Regions from separate parts of the Homo sapiens genome. Here region 1 is linked to region 2. Evidence: promoter capture Hi-C in human tissues and cell types (Jung and others, 2019). All regions are on one chromosome and are shown on one strand. Each heading gives the region's core, a stretch centred on a gene start or on the middle of the fragment in contact. The rest is flanking DNA. Distances are from core to core; before and after follow the strand shown.

Region 1 (7,256 bases), core at 4,256-6,755, 140 kb before region 2:
TTATCAGAATTATTTTCCCATTAAGGTGCCATGACAGAATTCCTCCAGTTTTAAGTTTAATGTAGAACAGGGAAGATGGAAACTGACAGACAGATTATCATGGCAATTTTGAACAGTAGGTCCCCACCAAATAATGTGAAAAATTAACCATGCAAATAAAACAAACTGTTCGTTAACTGTAAGTCATGTTAAGACATTGTGGACTCCAAGGAGAAGACTAAATTGCACATATTTTACTTTCTCACAGAATTTAAGGTAATTTACTTCTGAAGGATTTGAAGATAATTTCCTCAAACTGAATTAACCAATAACAAAGATTTTAAAACTCCAACAAGCTACCCCCAGAAAAATCAATAATTTGTACAACAGGTAAGTACCAAATGGAAATACAAATCTGATCTAGGTATTTTAATGTAATAAAATGTTACATTAAGTTAAAATAATGTGGGAAACACAAGTTTATTTAAAAGAAAGGAAAAATTAGAAACTATATGACATATGAACTAGAAGTGAAGCACAGTGGGAATGTTATTTGGCTAGTTCCCCTCAACCCTTTAAACAAACAAACAAAAAAAGACAACAGTAAAATATGCATTAAGGCTACAGAGGAAGAACAGTTCACTACTTACTAAACACAGAAACCAAGTTCCGAAAAAAAAAACTTCAAGGTTATCTTGAAATTTTTGAAACAACTTAACTGTTCCTGATAAGCAGTAAAGACAACTGAACTGGTTGGACTACGATAATACTGTACCCTGCTGGGACAGAATGCCAGCATGGCAAAGGGACTTTTTGTCTACACTGGTATCTGTAAAACTAACAGAGAGTGAGGAATATTAGGACTGAGTACTATGGTCAAGGAGGAGCGCAAGAAGGAAAGAATTTTCAAAAGGATACAAAACAGCACAGAAAAGTATAATACACTATCTTTTTCAAGAGAAAGATGAAATGAGAGCAAATAAGCCAGCAGGAAGGGCTGAGACAGGTGCCACATCCATACCCACGAAATAGCAATGATCAGAAAGACCAATGGATTCCAATTTCTTCCATTCAAATTATAAATCAGACTATAAAACATGCAGTAATAGCTTTTCAGTAGGGTATGCTTTGTAATTCCCTGGATTCTTTTAGGGGAGAAATATACTCGGTATGATTTACTGAGTAACATTCATTTTGAAAAGTAAACCTAATTTCTTTTTTTTTTTTAATTTTTTTTGAGACGGAGCCTCGCTCTGTCGCCCAGGCTGGAGTGCAGTGGTGCAATCTCGGCTCACTGTAAGCTTCATCTCCTGGGTTCACGCCATTCTTCTGCCTCAGCCTCCCGAGTAGCTGGGACTACAGGCACCCGCCACCACACCCGGCTAATTTTTTTGTATTTTTAGTAGAGACAGGGTTTCACTGTGTTAGCCAGGATGGTCTCGATATCCTGACCTCGTGATCCGCCTGCCTCGGCCTCCCAAAGTGCTGGGATTACAGGCGTGAGCCACAGCACCTGGCTGAAAAGTAAACCTAGTTTCAAATAACTTCTAGAATTGAAGTCAGTTCTTCCACATTCAATTGTCATTAATTTGAAAAGAGACCTAATTTGTAATCTTTCTTTAGCAATATACCTAAAAGTTTTGGGTTCAGTTTGAAGAAATATAATGGTCAATCTGCAGAAATAAGCAGACAACTCACCCTGAAAAAAAATTACAACAGTTCTAATAAAGGAAATTCCAAGGTCAATTCAGGAAAAGTACCACTCTTGCCAAGTTATATTATAAATTAGGACACATGGACTTATTGTGTCTGATTCCCTCACAGTCGCTGAAAGCAACCAGTGATAATAAAAAACGAATGCTAAATGGTACTATGGCTCGGTTCCGACATTTTTCCTGTTCATCCTATTCACAAACATTCCTGCCAAACTTGATTTTCAGTTAGGTGCTTTGTTCCTAACCCTTTTAAGTCAAAGTCCAACTTGCATCAAATCTAATGAAAATACTGGGAAGTATTTTCCAAAGGAACATGTCACTACGTTTAGGTAGATATTTAAATTAGAAAATACAATAAAACACTCTACCATTTAAATAAGCATTTTTGTTTTGTCATTTTTTTTTAATGTGGGCTACTGTGAGAATTTTACATATTTATTAGCCCACAGTCCCATCAGTGCTAGTAAAAATACATTTGGTAGTTTTATTATTCATTATCTGACCCATTGTACTTTGTAGCTGTGACAACTGAAATGGAATATACAGAACCAACGGTGGGAGGGAATGTTGCCTTTACTGCTTAGTGATCAACCATGAGAAAACAGGCTGTAATTTAACCATATAATGATGACAGTTTGGGTTTGCATGAGTATGGAGGTAACTGTCTGACCACATGTACGCAATACTGAGCTTTAATATTGGAGGCATCACACCCTACTTATGTTGAATAAAAAGCACCTTTCTTTCCAAAAGCTCTACCTGTCCAACAAATGCAGAGAAAGCTTTGGTACTGTCGCGGCCAGCTGCTGCTGAATGGTAGAGATTCACCCATTCCCTCAGAAGATACTCTGCCTTCTCCCTCAGGCCTGGAGGGTCATCATACTCTGAGGCTTGAGAGATCCCAGAATGCATCATAAAGTTTGGGCCTCCATGAGCACGATCAATCATTGCTTCATAGTTGGATCGCACTACTTCCATCAGCTGGGGCAATCTAGCACAATAAATAAAGGGTGAAAATCAGTCTCCTCGTAGTTGTGATTTTACAGACATACGCATGTATAGTTTGCTTATTTAACAGCAACCACCAGAGTGGTTTACCACTTCGCTTTACCACTTCCACACTGAAACAAAACTATACTTAGTCTCTTATCCGCTTGCTCATGAGCATACAACACACAAACAACTGCCCTCAGTTAAGCTACTTCTTGCCCAAAAAACGTGTTCATTTAAATGAAACTGATGTTCAGAGTCGACAAATATTCACTGTTTGCCTACTATGTACCATGCTTTCTTTACGTTACTTCTCTTGATTTCCAATAGTTCTTTGAGAAATTATTTCCATTTTCTATAAAGAATAGGTTTAAGGAGGATAAGTCAATTTGCCTAAAATCAGAAAGCTTTTAAGTGGCATGACCAGGGCTTAAACATAGGACTCTGACACTAAGTCTGGTACCGTATGTACTGCTCTGTGCCAAGAAGACTTGGCAGTCAATTAGGCTTTCATACTTCAAGTGACAATATTAGCCCTTACCAAAGCTACCCACCCATATGTGGTTGGTAAAGCAGTTATAACAAGTAATGTTAGTAAGTCTGCATATTCATTCCTAAAGATATTAGAAGACTACTAAATGCACAGGGATCTCAAAGCATTTCATCCTCACCCTTCTGGAGCATTGCCTCTGGAATGAGCATTAATCCTCATGAGGGTTTCAATGGTGTGGAACAGATCTGCCTCAGTAACATGAGCAACACTCCTTTCATCCACCAGCAGGATTTTTACTAACTGCATAGCAAATGCCACAGCCATGTAGTTTAAGCCATTCTCCATTGACTGGCAACACAGAAAACATAATGTGAGAGGGAAAACACTTAAGAGCAAACGTACTTCCCTGAGTCCTTTTGTCCGTGCAAGTAAATTCCTTCCATACCTGCGCTAGGTGAAGATCATACTGCTGCATATTAACCAAATGATTGCGAATTAGCAGCTCCACAGCCTCCACATTATATTTATATTCATCTCGACATTCAATTAGGCACCTAGAAAAAGTTCAATATCTTTACTCATATAGGCTTAACCATACTGTAAAAGGGCCCATTTTACTCAATGGAAATTTGCTCCAAACTAAGAATGCCTTGAGATTCAACTCCAAATCAGTGTCCAAATTTAAAAACAGCCAGTAATGAAATAGAACAGATAGCCCAAGCTTTCCTTTCAAATCCTAGGATACAGAGTATTCCATTTAAGACATTAAAATACTTATACACGAATACCACTTCTGAGAAATCACTGTAACCTTTTAAAACAATGACCTACAATTTATTCCCCAAAACAAGGTACTGGTTTTCTATATCCAACATGGGGAGAAGGTAGAGACCAGATGGAAAACAACTACTTAACAATTCTCACCTCTCAGAAGTAGGAAGTCTAAGTGTCCGACCTACCTACTAGAAAAAAGGGAAACCCCTGGACATAAACAGTACTATCTATGTCAAAAGGCAGTCGCAGTCCAATACTCACTACTTTTCGAAGATGGCTACTGACCTTGTGATCTGTTTGTTGCACCATGGAGACCCATATGCCCGGCCATCCTGCAGAGCTTTTAGGACCAAGAGGTGGCATTCCCTGTAGCGCAGCAGAAGGTCAGCATCAGCACCACTTGTGGCATCTAGTAAGCCCTCTACAGCCTATGGGAGAAAGAAAGCGTTCAAAACCATGAAAAATACAGTGCTTGGCCCAACTATCACAGCCAGAAACCAAATCTCAATGCCAAGTACCAAATACCTTCCAAAGCCTCCCTGTCCTTTCCACTCTCCAAACATCCCTTTCAGTTGCCTATCACACACACTCTAAATTCTATCTGATTTAAGTTCATTCTGTGCTCTTCATTGTCATAAAAGGCTCTGCTGTAGTTAAAATCCAGGGCTCCCTACCTACCCTGATCCAAATTATTGGATCAACTTGTCCCTCAAAATCTAAAGGGCAGCTGGGCTCAGTGGCTCATGTCTATAATCCTAGCGCTTTGGGAGGCTCAGGAGGGAGGGCCACTTGAGCCCAGGAGATTGAGAACGACCTGGACAACAAAGCAAGACCTGTCTCTACAAAAAAATTAAAAATTAGCTTGGCTTGGCAGTGAGCACCTGTAATACCAGCTACTCGAGAAGGTGATGTGGGAGGTTCACTTAAGCCCATGATCACATCACTGCACTCAAGCCTGACAGAGAGAGACCCTGTCTCTTACACACACACACACACACACACACACAGACACACACACCCCTCTAAAGGGCTACCTTTTAAAGTTTCTTCAAATCACATTTCCAGAATATCTTTAAGAAAAAAAATGAAGATTTCCAAGTTTACCATTCAAAACTGCCATGACTACATTCTACGTTGGAAAAAAAAAAAATCACCTACTTACAGAACTTGATTTATATTATGAAATCTTAAGCATAACTGCATAAATATGTAGATGGTGGTGCAGGTCAATAAATGTTTACACACCTAGCATTTTCTAAAAGTAATAGCTTAAGAACCAACCTTTTGGAGCAATCCAAGAGCAGCTATGGCATCCCGAGAGTTTCGAGATAAAACTACAACCTCCAAGAGACTTCGAAGAGCCTGAGCTTGAGGGTTCATGGCCAAAGTTGGTGGGATGGCATGTAGATGTTGCTCCAGTTCTGTAATACACTTATCATAAATCTGAGCTACATCATCTGTTGCCCAAGCTTGCTGTTTTACAGAAGGAAACAACCAACAAGAGACAAAAGAATGTTAAGGTTTTTTATTGACACATGTATCAAATAGAGGTCTACTAGTATGTTTACTCCCTTTTTCTTATTTTTACATTCAAACATGGAGGGCCTCTTCTTTTCCTTCTTCCTGAGCTATTCAGAATTAATACCATCAAGTGGCACAGTACAAGGCAGGCATAAGGGAAGAGGTGTTTCATTTGAGAGAGGAAAACCTGGCAGACAGCAGCATAATCAAGTGATAAAAGAGAGCATTAGTAACAATGAGACAGACTGAGGGCAGCACCACTTGTACCATCTACTAAGCCCTCTATATCCTAAGAAAGTAAGTGTTTCAAACCATGAAAAATACAGTACTCAGTCCAACTGTCAAAGCCTGATAGGATAGAGTAAGAATACAGCATTACTTCTGAGCTATTCCTATTTTTAAAAACACATTACCTGAACCTAGTCATGAGAATACACTGGACAAACAAATCAAGTCATTTAGAAAATAATTAGCCTATAATATTCAGAAGTGTTATGGTCATGAAAGATGAGGAAAAACTGAGTTACCTACACCAGCTAGAACTGAGGGAGACTTTAAAAATATGACAACTGAAGAAATGTGTGATTCTAAAACAGGTCTTTTACTATACATTATTGGGATACATGGTGAAACTCGAGTGAGGTCTATGAATTAGATGGAGTAAGGTTATTAGTATTCATTTCTGACCTTAATGGTTGTACCATGGTCACACAGGAAAAGGGTTTTTTAAGAAATACAAACCAAAGGAAAAAGGTTTTGTAAGAAATACAAACCAAAGGATTCAGGAGCGATGGGGGTATCAGGTCAGCAACTTACTATCGACCGGTTCGGGGGAAAATATTTTTCCCTATATTTCCAAGTTTTCTGTAAACACCTTTGAAAATTTTAGAAAATTCTTTTATTTAAAAAATGGGAAGGCTGGGCACAATGGCTCAGGCCTGTAATCCCAGCACTTTGGGAGGCCAAGGTAGGCGATCACTTGAGGTCAGCAGTTTGAGTCTAGTCTAGGCAACATGGCAAAACCCCATCTTTACAAAAAATACAAAAATTAGCTGAGCATGGTGGCACACGCCTGTAGTCCTAGCTCCTCAGGAGGCTGAGGTGGGAGGATCGCTTGAGTCTGGGAGGTGGAGGTTGCAATGAGCTGAGATCGCGCCACTGCACTCCAGCCTGGGTGACAGAGAAAGACCCTGTCTCAAAAAAATAAATAATAAAATTTAAAAATAAAAAACCGAAAGTTATTATGTTACCATGAGAATTCCCCTAATTAGGCCGAACATTAAAGTTAAATCACCCACACCCATGTCAATTTTTCTTTAATCCCCTGTATGTCATACTTAATTGGACACAAAGAATACCTACAACTCAAAAACTATAGGTGTTTTTTCCCCTGTAAATTATTCTCCCAGGAAGCAAGTCAAAAACATATATTAAATGTCAAAAACATTTAAATTAATTGGCAAAACACTCAATTTAATCTAAAACACATTTACCTTCATGGGCTGGGCTAAAAATCCCGTGGGCTGACTTAAGTCATTTGTAGGTAAGAAGCCAGGAACATTGCGTGCAAACTCTTCGTAAACAGCCAACTGCTTTGGGTCCACACCACCAACCTTGAAAGAAGAAAACCTATTTTGACAGAATTCACTCAATAATCAAAATAAACTGTTTTGAAAGTGGAAAGTCTGCATGTGGGTAAGCTCAGGGACACAAGAGTCATTACAACATATAACAGCATGATTAAGCATGCACGCACACACAAATGCAGTTCAGAAGAGGGCTTC
Region 2 (6,835 bases), core at 616-3,115:
CGTGAGCCACCACGCCTGGCCAACTTTTTAAATTTTTTGTTCCTGTGGGGAACAAAATTGGCCTTTCAAAATTCAGGCCAATTCTCAACTCTTCTCCCATGTGACTTCTCCCACGTGACAAGCCCCCCACGCCTGTCATGTTTAAATTTTCTGTAGAGATGAGGAGGTCTCACTATGTTGCCCAGGCTGGTCTTGAACTCCTGGGCTCAAGCAATCCTGCTGCCTCGGCCTCCCAAAGTGCTGGGATTACAGGCGTGAGCCACAGCCCCCAGCCTGGTTTAGTCTTTATAGCCCAGAGGGAAAAAAAGGGAACTGAGCATATTCAGCCATAATGACTGCCCTAACCATTGGGCCACCCTCTCTGATGCCTTCAGCCCACTGGGGGTTTAAAATGACTAACAAGACCCCTTGGACTACTTCCCATTGCTCCTCCTGATGATGGACAAACAAAGCTGGGGACCATCCACTCATGAGAGGGAAAGGGTGAAAGTTCATGTGCTCTCAGCCATCTGTTATCAAGCATGGAACCAAGGGACATGGCACCAGAGGAAACATTCCTCTGCTGGCTCGAAACCCAGAAAGATCTGTCAGATGTCACAGGGCTTACACATCCTCTTACACATCCTGTCACCCAACCAGCAACTCAGCAAAATCAAAGCAGTGAGCAGCGAAGGCAGAGTCTTGGGACTCCCAGGCTTCCAGTGTAGCTAGAGAAAGAACCCTGCAAAGTGACCACTGCCAGAGCTGTGACCATCTCCTCCCCGCTGCTCACGTCACAGAGACAGAGGTCTACAGAGTGATTCGTCCAAGGTCACAAGGCTTGGTGCGGCTTCCTGACTCTCCAACCAAAATGTTTCCCTTGGGCACCCCTGCCCGAGTCCTGCACCATCCTCCAGCCTCTCCTGCCACCCACATGAGAGTGCAGGCTGGGGTCCTCGTGGAACTCAGAAGCTGGGGGTCCCACCTCTTGCAGATTCTCTGCCTTGGTTAAGACCTCTCGGCACCCCCACTGCTCACTGGCAAATTACTCAGCTCATTGTTGCACCTTACCTGCTCTTTCTCCCTGATGGGCTGTGCCAGAGGCGGTTGCTCCTTCTCCCCAAAGGTCTGGGATCTGATTCTCCTCACTTCCCTTTCTGGACCCAATTTCTTCTTTCTCAAGACTTTGCCTAAAATTTGCTGTCAGCAGAGGGAAGAGTTTGGGCTACTTCTGTGCTGGCTTCAGCAGAGCTGGAGGAAACTGAGCGGCTCTCACGCTTACTCATGAAATGGAGCTTCAGGACAGATAGGAAAACAGGCCCAGGAGGGAGAGGTTAGACTAAGGTCACAGTGGGTAGCTGGCAGAGCCAGAATAGAAGCCTGATGCCCACATGCTCAGGCCAGCGATGTAGGCCCCTCAGATCCCAACTGGAGTGTGCTCCCAGTCCAGCCTGGGGTTGGAGCCCTGAGATAGAAAGGGTGGGCTGCTTTGTGAGGTGAGGCTTTGTGAGGTGAGCCAGGGCGCACCCGGGCCAGGAGGCCGGGGCGGGGCGATTCCCAGGCCTGGAGCGAGAAGGGTGGGCTACTGTGGGGTAACCTGGGGAGGAGCTCCGGGACCCGATCCCGGCCTAGGACTGGGTGGAGACCCTCTGGCTGGGTAAAGGCGCGGCAGAGCTGGCGCAACAGAGGGACGGGCGTGGGGCGAGGACGCCAGGATCTGGACCCCTGCAGGGAAAGGGTCTGAGCTTTTCCGCGGTGGCGGGGACTGAGGGGCTCCACAGACCTCGGGGATCTAACACTTCCACCCTCCAGAGCCTGTCTCCGGCCACCTACCTTGGGGGATTCTTTCCCGAGCCGGCTGCGGAGACACGTGAGCATGCATCACATGACGCCCGCTCGGGCGGCCGCGGGACACGCTGGGAGTTGTAGTTTCCGCAAATGTGAAGCTTGGACAACACCAGCTCCCTGAATCCTCAGCCCGACAGCACTGCCCTGAGCCAGCCTCGCGTCCAGCCAGCTCGTGTTTATCCTCTTACTTTTAGTCTTGGCCTCTTGACCAAATCAAACACTGCTCCTTCCTCCAAGGAAGAGCATTAGGAGGTCTGGCCTCTTTGCCAGTCCCGGTGGCGGTGGGCCAAAGCTGTTTGGCCTCATTATCCTCCCGGTCTCTGTCCTTGCCTTCACGCCCATGGCCAGAGCACTGGAGTTTTTTTTTAATCAGTAATGTGGGGGACCTGGAGCCACGGTCTTTCCTGCAAGGGAGTGGGCTGGGGGCATGGTTACGACCCCATCGGTTTAGACTCTAGAACAGTTTTTGAGGGATTGTAGGTGCTCAGTAAATATTTGTTGAATGACGAAATGGGCATCCAGTCCTGGTTCTGTTCTTGGCTGTGTGTCACTCATAAATTGTCACGTAATCTCCAGCATCCCAATAGCCTCATCTCTGTTTTGTGGATATGCTCTCCACTGCACTTACCTCTCCATGCATCAGAGGTCCTCACCGATGAGGACACACTGGGAATCCTTAGAAACCCAAATCACACCTTTTTTTTTTTTTTTTTTTTTTTTTTTTTTGAGACAGAGTCTCACTCTGTCTCCCCGGCTGGGGTGCAGTGGCACGATCTTTGCTCACTGCAACCTCTGCCTCCCGGGTTCATGTGATTCTCCTGCCTCAGCCTCCCGAGTACCTGGGATTACAGGCATGCACCACCACTCCCAGCTAATTTTTGTATTTTTAGTAGAGATGGGGTTTCGCCATGTTGGCCAGGTTGGTCTCAAACTCCTGACCTCAAGTGATCCACCCACCTCAGCCTCCCAAAGTGCTGGGATTACAGGCATGAGCCACCGTGCCTGGCCTCCAAAAAGTTTATATAAATTGAATCATACTGGTTGAGTGCGGTGGCTCACACCTGTAATCCCAGCACTTTGGGAGGCCAAGGCGGGCTGATCACTTGAGGTCAGGAGTTCGAGACCAGCCTGGCCAACATGGCGAAGTCCTGTCTCTATTAAAAATACAAAAATTAGCTGGGCATGGTGGTGCACGCCAGTAGTCCCAGCTACTCGGGAGCCTGAGGCAGGAGAATCACTTGAACCCGGGGGGCGGAGGTGGCGGTGAGCAGAGATCGTGCCACTGCACTCCAGCCTGGGAGACAGAGTGAGACTCTGTCTCAAAAAAAAAAAAAAAAATAGAATCATACTGTCTTAATCAGTTAAGGCCGCTATAACAGAGTATCATAGACTGGGTGGTTTAAACGACAGAGATTTATTTTTCACCGTCCTGGAAGCTGTCAAGACTGAGGTCAGAATGCCAGCAGAGTCAAGTTCTGGGGAGGACCATCTTCATAGTTTTCAGATGGCCATCTTCCTGCTGTGTCCTCACATTGCGGAAAGCAGAGAGGGAAAGTAAACTCTCTCTTATTTTTATTTATTTTATTATTATTATTATTTTTAGAGACACGGTCTCTGTTGCCCAGGCTGGAGGGCAGTGGCGCAATCACAGCTCACTGCAGTCGCCATCTCCCAGGCTCCACTAGTCCTCCCGCTTCAGCCTCCCAAATAGTTGAGACTACAGGCATGCGTGCCATCATGCCTAGCTAACTTTTCATTTTTTATAGAGACAAGGTCTTCCTATGTTGCCCAGAATGGCCTCAAACTCCTGGGCTCAAGTGAACCTCCTGTCTCAGTCTCCCCAAGTGCTTGGATTACAGGCATGAGCCACCATGCCTGGTCTTGTTTCTTCTTATAAGTGAACTAATCCTGCGGCTGGGTGTGGTGGCTCACGCCTGTAATTCCAGCACTTTGGGAGGCCGAGGCAGGTAGATCATGAGGTCAGGAGTTCAAGACCAGCCTGACCAACATGGTGAAACCCCATCTCTACTAAAAATACAAAACAAATTAGCTGGGTGTGGTGGCATGCGCCTGTAATCCAGCTACTCAGGAGGCTGAGGCAGGAGAATTGCTTGAACCCAGGAGGCAGAGGTTTCAGTGAGCCGAGATCGTGCCACTGCATTCCAGCCTGGGTGACAGAGTAAGACTCTGTCTCAAAAAAAAAAAAAATAGTACTAATCCCATCATGAGGGCTTTAATTACCTAATTACCTCCCAAAGGCACGTCTCCAAATACTATCACGTTGGGGATTAGGGTTTCCACATATCAGTTTGGGATGAACACAAACATTCAGTTCATAGACCACACAGTCTGTAATTTTCTAAGATTGCCTTTTTTTTTTTAACTCAGTAAAATTCCCTAGAAGAGATTCATCTAAGCTATATACGTCAACACAGATAGGTTTTATTGCTGAGTAGTATTCAGTGGTATGTATGTACCACAGTTTACTTACCCATCACTCTTTGAAGGACATTTGAATTGTCTGCCTTTTTTTTTTTAACATAGCTTTATTGAGGCCAGGCATGGTGGCTCATGCCTGTAATCCCAGTACTTTGGGAGGCTGAGGCAGGCAGATCATTTGAGGTCAGGAGTTCGAGACCAGTCTGGCCAACATGGTGAAACTCTTGTCTCTACTAAAAATACAAAAATTAGCTGGGTGTGGTGGTGCATGTCTGTAATCCCTGTTACTCAGGAGGCTGAGTCACGAGAATCACTTGAACCTGGGAGGTGGAGGCTGCAGTGAGCCGAGATTGCGCCACTGCACTCCAACTTGGGCAACAGAGTGAGACTCTGCCTTGGAAAAAAAAATTTAAAAAATAAGAATAGTTTTGTTGAGATATTCGTATGCCATAAAATCCACCCTTTGAAAGAGTCCAATAAGGTGCATTTTAGTTTCTTCAGAGTTGTGCAATGATGACCACTATCTAATTTCAGAATATTGTGATCACCCTCCCCTACTAAAATCCTGAACCCATTAGCAGTCACTTCCCATCTCCCCCTCCACCAAGCCCCTGGCAACTCTGAATCTACTCTTTGCTTCTGTGGGTTTGCCTATTCTTGACCTTTCATATAAATTGAGTCACACAATATGTGACCTGTTCTGTCTGCTTCTTTCACTGAGCATACTGTTTTCAGTGCTCATCCTAGTTGGAACATGAACCAGTATTTCATTCATTTTTATTGCTGAATAATGTTCTGTTGTATGGCTATACCACATGTAGTGTGGCAGGTCCCCCATCAGGTTACTTGGAGGTGTATATCCACTGCTTGAATCCTGAATGCTGGGTGGTGAGCCAAGGCCATGGTGCCCAGCCTAGGAGCAGATATTCCTGAGAACTCAAACATCCTGGAGAGGATCTGAGAATCTACCAAGGAAAACAGTCCCACTGCATACACGCAGTAGGCAAAGAGCTAGAAAATTAGCTTAAAAATGGCTTAGAGATGGGAGGTGGCGCGGATCTCTAGCACTGTCCTGCTGCTGTCAAGGAGTGTCCCGTATGTAAGTCCTCAAACTCATCTACTCGCCAAGCTGGACTTGCCTGAGTCATTCTCTGGTCTCTCAACTGCCTCCAAGTTTGGGGGAAGGTTTTTCGTACAATTCAGTGTTTTTCTCATTACACCACATTTTTTTATCTGTTCAGTAGTTGATATTTGTGTTATTTTTTCTTTTTGGCTACTGTGAATAATGGTGCTGTGAACATTCATGTACAAGGTTGTTTTATTTGAGATGGAATTTCGCTCTTTTTGCCCAGGTTGGAGTGCAATGGCATGATCTTGGCTCACTGTAACCTCTGCCTCCTGGGTTCAAGCGATTCTCCTGCCTCAGCCTCCCGAGTAGCTGGGATTACAGGTGCCCACCCCCACGCCCAACTAATTTTGTATTTTTAGTAGAAATGGGGTTTCATCATGTTGGCCAGGCTGGTATCGAGCTCCTGACCTTGGGTGATCCGCCTACCTCGGCCTCCCTCATGGACTAGTTTTTGTGTGGACATATGTTTTCATTTCTCTTGGGTATACATGTAGAAGTGGAATTGATGGATCAGATGGTAACTCTATGTTTAACCTTTTAAAAATTATTTTATTGGCCGGGTGCGGTGGCTCACGCCTGTAATCCCAGCACTTTGGGAGGCTGAGGCGGGTGGATCACGATGTCAGGGGATCTAGACCATCCTGGCTAACACGGTGAAACCCTGTCTCTACTAAAAATACAAAAAAATTAGCCAGGTGTGGTGGCATGCGCCTGTAGTCCCAGCTAGTCGGGAGGCTGAGGTAGGAGAACTGCTTGAACCTGGGAGGTGGAGGTTGCAGTAAGCCGAGATTGCACCACTGCACCCTAGCCTGGGTGACAGAGCAAGACTCTGTCTCAGAAAAAAAAAGTATTTTGTTATTATTATTATTATCATTTTAGAGACAGGGCCTTGCTCTGTTGCCCAGGCTGCTGCTCAGCACAAAATCCTGGGCTCAAGTGATCCTCCCACCTCAGTCTCCCAAGTAGCCAGGACTGCAGATGTGTGCCACCATGTCCAGCTAATTTTTAAATTTTTTGCAAAGACAGGGTCTTGCTGTGTTGTCCAGGCTAGTCTTGAATTCCTGGGCTCAGGCAATCCTTCCACCTCAGCCTCCCAAAGTGCTAGGAATACAGGTGTGAGACACTGTGCTACTCCTACAACTGTTTTGTATATTGATCTTACACCCTACAATTCTGTTGAACTTATTTACTAGCTCTAATAGTTTTATTAGTGGAATCTTCAACATAAGATTATAAAACCTGTAAATAGAGATAATTTTATATCTTCCTTTCTAATCTGGATTCCTTTTATTTTCTAGCCTTGACTGTACCAGAACCTCCAGTACAATGTTGAATGAAGTGATGAGAGTGGACATCCTTGTTTTGTTCCTTGTTTCAGGAGACAATCATTCAGCGGTTCATTATTAAGTATGATGTTGCCTGTGGATTATTTGTAGATGC

The links. The method cuts DNA at HindIII sites, captures the fragments that hold promoters and counts their contacts. A contact is called where the count stands out against the background at its distance.
Region 1: a fragment that was not itself captured here is called in contact with the fragment with the promoter of SLC38A7 in region 2 in 6 of the 25 tissues and cell types used here (H1 embryonic stem cells, bladder, hippocampus and 3 more).

What each region holds. Positions count from the first base shown.
Region 1 is chr16:58,534,536-58,541,791 of GRCh38, forward strand. CNOT1 (CCR4-NOT transcription complex subunit 1) reads right to left here. Exons shown (of 49, transcript NM_016284.5): 34 at 6,966-7,085; 35 at 5,233-5,424; 36 at 4,237-4,379; 37 at 3,623-3,731; 38 at 3,356-3,525; 39 at 2,454-2,685. Among named protein-coding and RNA genes, the nearest start is that of SNORA46, 10 kb to the right of the region's middle. The HindIII fragment of the contact is 7,254 bases long and covers 1,879-7,256 here.
Region 2 is chr16:58,682,905-58,689,739 of GRCh38, forward strand. SLC38A7 (solute carrier family 38 member 7) reads right to left here and starts at 1,866. Exons shown (of 12, transcript NM_018231.3): 1 at 1,813-1,866; 2 at 1,051-1,274. RefSeq lists enhancers at 1,238-2,082, 1,593-1,652. The HindIII fragment of the contact is 12,070 bases long and covers 1-6,835 here.